2 separate regions of the Homo sapiens genome follow, and region 1 is linked to region 2. Evidence: promoter capture Hi-C in human tissues and cell types (Jung and others, 2019). All regions are on one chromosome and are shown on one strand. The core of a region is centred on a gene start or on the middle of the fragment in contact, and the rest is flanking DNA. Distances in the headings are between cores, read along the strand shown. Region 1 overlaps SLC22A8 (solute carrier family 22 member 8). Region 2 holds the start of CHRM1 (cholinergic receptor muscarinic 1).

Region 1 (2,700 bases), core at 16-2,515, 72 kb after region 2:
GTAAGAGGAGGGCTGAAGAGTGACTTATGGATCCAGCACAGGGAGGGGATGAGCGTCCTTGGTGAAAGCGGTTCCAGGGAGGGAAGGGGTAGGAGCCGGAGTGCAGTGGGGGAGATGTATGAGGCTAGAAGGTGGATACAGGGGAGGCAGACAGCTCCTTTATGAAGTCTGGCTTCGAAGGGGAGAAAGAGCCAGTGTGGCCCTTGGAAGGAGATACAACATCCTGGCATGTGTTTGTGTTGATTTTTGTTAAGTTGGGAGAAGCCTAAGCTTGTTTAACTGGTGATGGGCGGCAGCCAAGACAGAGGGAATGGGCAGAGACCCCAGAGGGAAAGGGATGGCTGCTGGTGGAGGGATTGGCTGTTCTGCTGTGGCTGGAGGGAACCGGGAACATGGCAGCAGATATTGACAGCGGTCAGCTACCATTGCAGTTTTCTGATATTGACAGCGGTCAGCTACCATTGCAGTTTTCTCAGTTAACACGAGAAAAACTATCTGCTGGGCATGGGGCTGAGACATAGATCAGAGATTTGGGGTGATCAGGGGAAAGAAATCAGGATTGGAGGGGCTCTGGCTTCTGTCTGCAGCCACTCTGGGCTTGGTCAGTCATCTGCTCATATGCATGCTGGGACGTGTAGACACACACATGTATTTTCATGCACAGGCGTGGTGTACACACCTCAGAGCACTCACATGTGCTTGCTCATGTTCACATCAGTCCAGCTTGCATGTACCTGTGGTGCCTGTACACAGGCCTGTCGTACATGAAGTGTGGATGGACAGATGTGCATGCTCACGTGTCCACACGGTGGCCAGCTCCCATCCCACCCCCATTCCTGAACATCATGGCTAGAGTTCTTATCGCTGTTTATTGAAACCTCCCATCAAAGAAAAGTGTGGGAGGCAAGAAGGGGAGGACTTCTCATCTTGTTAAGACTCAGTCTTGTTAGGACTGAGCCAGGGGATATCAGGGGACCTCAGGGGAAGAGGACCGGGACAGTGGGGGAAGGTGGCCAGTGGGGAAGGGCTAGACAGAAGAATGGCAGGGCCTGGGTTGCAGGGAGAACAAGGGCAGGGATGGCTGAACCTTTGAACTGGCCAGGGCTGGGCAGGAGGCTCTGGTGGTGGTGATGGAGACACCTTCACCAAGCTCTCAGAAGGCTTCATCCTAGGAGGATGGACCTATATGGGGCCTCCCTATACTCCTAAGGTGCCTGGCTAGGATCAGTCTCTGGAGGGCAGGGAAAGGGGGTTCCGTTGTCCTCAGCTGGAGCCCAGGCCTGGTCCGTGAGGCTGTAGAGGGATCCTCTGGGAGGCCTTTTCCACCTCTGGCTCCTGCTTTGGCTTCTTTGCCCGCAGGGACCTAGGGACAGAGAGCTAAGGAAAAGCCCTGGGCCCAGACCTGCTTCCCCAGGGAGGAGCACTGATGGGGCCAGAGGCAGTGACTGACCAGTTTTCCAGGTCTTCGATAGTCTCTGGCAAGGGCTGATTCAGGGTCTCAGGCAGGAAGAGGGCAGCACTGCCCCCGAGGAGGGCGGTGATCCCGTAGATGATATTGGGGATGAAGGGCTGTACCTCACCCGTGATTTTCACCAGCGGGGACACCATGCTTCCCACGCGGGTCCACAGGTTACTTACGCCCATACCTGTTTGCCTGCGAGGGTTCAGAGTAGGGATTGGTAGCCTGTGTGTGGGGTTCATAAAGGATGGCTCCCCTGGGTAGAGGACAGGACAATGCCACAGTCCCACCTGACCTGTGTCCTCTGGCTGGGCCTGGCCCCAGGTCCAGCACCTACCTGATGACTGTGGGGTATAATTCACTTGTGTAGAGGAAGAGGCAGCTGAAGGAGCTGGATAGGCATCCCTTCCCAAACACAGCCAATACTGTCCTCACGGTCTGCAAGTCTGCAGAGGGAAGAAAATGTGGTGGGCCTTGGAGTTCAGGAGCACCTAAGAGTTCTCACTCCTTAGCTGATCTTGTCTCCCTTTTTGCTTTGGCTTCCAAGAAGCTCAGATCCAAACTTAAAGCTGAGTAATGCTTTGCATGCCTGTGTCCTGCTATGTTTGTGTTTTCCCCTGCCTCTGATCCTCTATTTCCATTTATATTTTGTTGTATATGTTCTTGTTCTTGTCTTAAAATACCTCAAGTTCTTTTGGAAGGGTATAGGTGTTATCAACCAACTAACACCCATATAAAATAAACGTAGCTTTTCCAAGGTCATGATGGAGTAGGTTGTGGGGTCTTTCTTGAGCATGAGCTCTGTCGTTTTACCATCTCAGCTTATCTCTACAGTGATGTCACTCAGGACACTCTCAATACCTCAAAAATTTTCACACTATCCAGATACCACCATACTTTTTGCCCAGTCCAAGTCAGATCTGGAAAGGAGCTTTCATGTCATCTAGCCCAATTGCGTTATTTTCTAGAAGAGAGACCCTGAGCCCCAGAGAGTGCAGGGACCTGCTCAAGGTAACACAGTGACTTAGAGGCAGAGCCAGCAGTGAAGTCCCTGGCACCCAACCTGGCAGCCTCTTCCAGAGGGTTCTGGGGTAGCCCCAGTCTCTCACCCAAGGGCACAAAGGTGAGAGCCAAGATGGCCCCTCCTGCCAGGAGCAGGGCAGCGGCCTGAGTGGTATGCCGGCCCAGGTAGCTTAAGGAGAGGATGGTGATGAACTTGGCTGGGACATCGACCCCACCAA
Region 2 (2,771 bases), core at 256-2,755:
CCTTTCCCTTTCTCAGCCTCAGTCCCTCCATACAATAGAAAGCCTCCTTTCTAGGTCTGACATGACCTCTGGTTAGCCCCTTCTTGACACTTTGGACTCCCCATTACACTTCAGAATCCAGTTCTCAGAACTCCAACCGCCAGCTGTCAGCTGCGAGCCAAGACCCACATCTTCTGCAGCCCATTTCACTATCTCCTTCCCTTTCATATCTCAGCCGCGATAGCGACTGCAGCTTGCCTGGTGGCTGAGGTCAGAGGGCAGAGAACTCTCATCTGACAGCCCACTGAACAGCTGATTACCCTGAGAAAGGAGACTGTCTGGCTACTGGAGACTGCCTGACTCCTTCCAGCCAGTTGGGCAGGGGTCTTGGGTCAGTCTGGGTGGAGCTGCAGGTGTGTTTTGTGCAAAGATGTGAACCCCTCTCCATTGGCTCTGATAACCTCTAAGCTGCACATGTCTGGATGACCTAATGAGAGCTGACGACCCCCTCCCCAGCTGGCCTGCCCAGGAGCTGACAACTCTACAAGCATCAGAGTTCCTGGCCCCTAGCCCATCCCCATGTTGTGCAGTCTGCGGGCACTGGGGTGAGTACCTGGCGTGGGTGCCCATTGGTATCCATGCATTGCCTGGATATAGGACTGAGACCCACCCTGCGGGAGCCCAAGATACTAGAAACATAAGGAGGGTCCTCTGGGCCCCTGCGCACGTCAGGGCCACCTTCCCTGGCTAGTGTGGCCACCCACATGCCCATTTGTCCCCAAAGAGCCCTGGGGCTCTTTGCCTGGTCTCCTGCTGGCTTCTGGCCTGACACCCACCTTGGCTTCTAGCTTCTCTATCTGGCCAGCAGCCTGATTCAGTCCATCTTGGGGGAGCTGAGGTGGACGGGGGTGGTGGGTTTCAGGGTGCCCTGAGGGAGGACAGGAGGTTCTGGGACTGGCACCCCCATCAAGATGGGGGTCAACCTCCCACAGGATGCTGGTGGCAAGGGCTGCTTCCTGGCCCTTTGCCCTTCCCACTCTGCCCCTAGGGTGTTGGGGGTTCTGCTTGCTACCAGGCAGCCTAATCCCTTCTGGGCCTCAGGTCCAGTTTCCTGAGGGGGATCTCCATCTCCTCTGCCAGCAGAAGCCCAGAAAAACATCAGCTATATCCACTCAAAGCCAGGAGGCCGAGTGTTTGGAGCAGTCAGTGTTCAATGCTACAGAGCCCCCTTGCCCTCTAGACCCCTCCCTGGCCTCCTCCTATCTCTGTGAGTCCATCCCTATTTCCATCTCATCCTGATCCCTGCCCTCCCCCGCTCCCCAGGACCCTCCTACCCTCTACCTTAGTGCAGCCCCTCCCAAGCCCTCCCAAATGTACTCACCACGGGGCTGAAGAGGGGTCTGTAGGGTCCTCAGCCCCACTGCCTCCCTGGGGGCCTGCGGCGTCTCCAGGGACCCAAACACCTGGCTCCCAGGGGGAGCTGCGCCCTGTGCTGGCAGCGGGAGAGGCACAGCCAGTGATTGGCATGTCCCACCCCCTGGCACGCCAGCCTTAGCGGGGAGGGAGAAAGGGAAAGAGAGGGAGGGAGGAAAGGGAGAAAAGGAAGGGAGGGGAGCTGGAGGGAAGCCTCAGGCAGCGTCTGGGGTTGGACTAGGTTCTGGAGTGTGCCCCCCTCCTTCACCAGGGCACCCAATTTGAGCCCCAAGAGGGAGGAGAAAGGACATGAGGAAGGCGAGCCCAGGAAGGCTAAAAGTCCCGGACGGGAGAGAAGGCGGATACAGGGAGACAAACACCCACACCCACTGCACAGACCCGGCGGCACACACACCCTCACAAAGGCACACTGTTTCCTTGGGCTCCTCCCCCCACCCAACCTTAGAGCCCCCAGCCCCTGTGCACCATGCCCCAACACACATGCCCTGGTATTCACATGCCTGCTTCCCTCGCACACACGCCCTCCCCCCTGCACATGCCCACGCACCCACCCACCCAACTACACACCCTGCTCTTCCTCCCTGCTGTGAGAGAGCTAGATTCCTTCTGTTTGGAAATGACACATTGGGCCTCACGTGAGAGGCTCCAACTTGGAACAGACCCAGAGGGCTGGCGCACCCGCCCGGGGGCTGAGTGAACGTGCCCGCATGCTGGGCTGTGTGCGCTAGCATTGGGCTATGCATAGCCTGTTGTGAGGGTATATGGGTGTCTGCTTTTCGGGGATGAGTAGAGGGCCAGGTGCCTGCCCCATGTGCGGCTGAGTGCCTTGCATATGTGTGTCCCTGTGTACTCATGTCACCATGCAGCCTGTGTAAGTGCAGGTGTGACCCTATCAGTCTGGAGGCAGGACGCGTGTGCACACGTGTGTCTGTATCTGATGTGTGGCTGAGTGTTGCCCAACTGTGGAACTTGCTAATTCTGACAAGTGAGGCAGCCTCTACCTGCCTGCTCCACCCCAAGCTTCCACTTGGAAGACAGACAGGCAGACAGACAGCTCTCCTCCCAGCTTGTCAAGCTCTGTCTCCCCTGACTCCCACTCAGGGCTCACAGGTGTGTACCTGGGAGGAGATGAGCCCTCCTCCCAATCTCCCTCAGCCCTACTGGGTGAGGCCAGCATCCCTCCCTGCCAGGCTGGTCTGGACTTCTGTGTTGAGCTTCCTCAGAGATAGAACCCCTGGGGGGCCGTTTGCCCTAGAGATGTGGGTCCTGCACCGCCTCTGTTTGGCCCTAGAGACCTCCCCGGGAGCTGACTGGGGAGGAGAGTTGGAGGCTGCAGGGACTGCCTTCTGGGGCTGCTG

The links. The method cuts DNA at HindIII sites, captures the fragments that hold promoters and counts their contacts. A contact is called where the count stands out against the background at its distance.
Region 1: a contact is called between a fragment that was not itself captured here and the fragment with the promoter of CHRM1 in region 2, in 2 of the 25 tissues and cell types used here (spleen and thymus).

Annotation. Positions count from the first base shown.
Region 1 is chr11:62,991,974-62,994,673 of GRCh38, forward strand. It overlaps SLC22A8 (solute carrier family 22 member 8), which reads right to left. Exons shown (of 11, transcript NM_004254.4): 8 at 2,569-2,700; 9 at 1,797-1,905; 10 at 1,451-1,654; 11 at 851-1,363. The coding sequence ends at 1,264. Among named protein-coding and RNA genes, the nearest start is that of SLC22A6, 8.4 kb to the left of the region's middle. The HindIII fragment of the contact is 7,404 bases long and covers 1-2,700 here.
Region 2 is chr11:62,919,858-62,922,628 of GRCh38, forward strand. It overlaps CHRM1 (cholinergic receptor muscarinic 1), which reads right to left and starts at 1,506. Exons shown (of 2, transcript NM_000738.3): 1 at 1,361-1,506. It overlaps LOC105369333 (a long non-coding RNA gene), which reads left to right and starts at 303. Exons shown (of 5, transcript XR_002957251.2): 1 at 303-584. RefSeq lists an enhancer at 1,830-2,364. The HindIII fragment of the contact is 6,896 bases long and covers 1-2,771 here.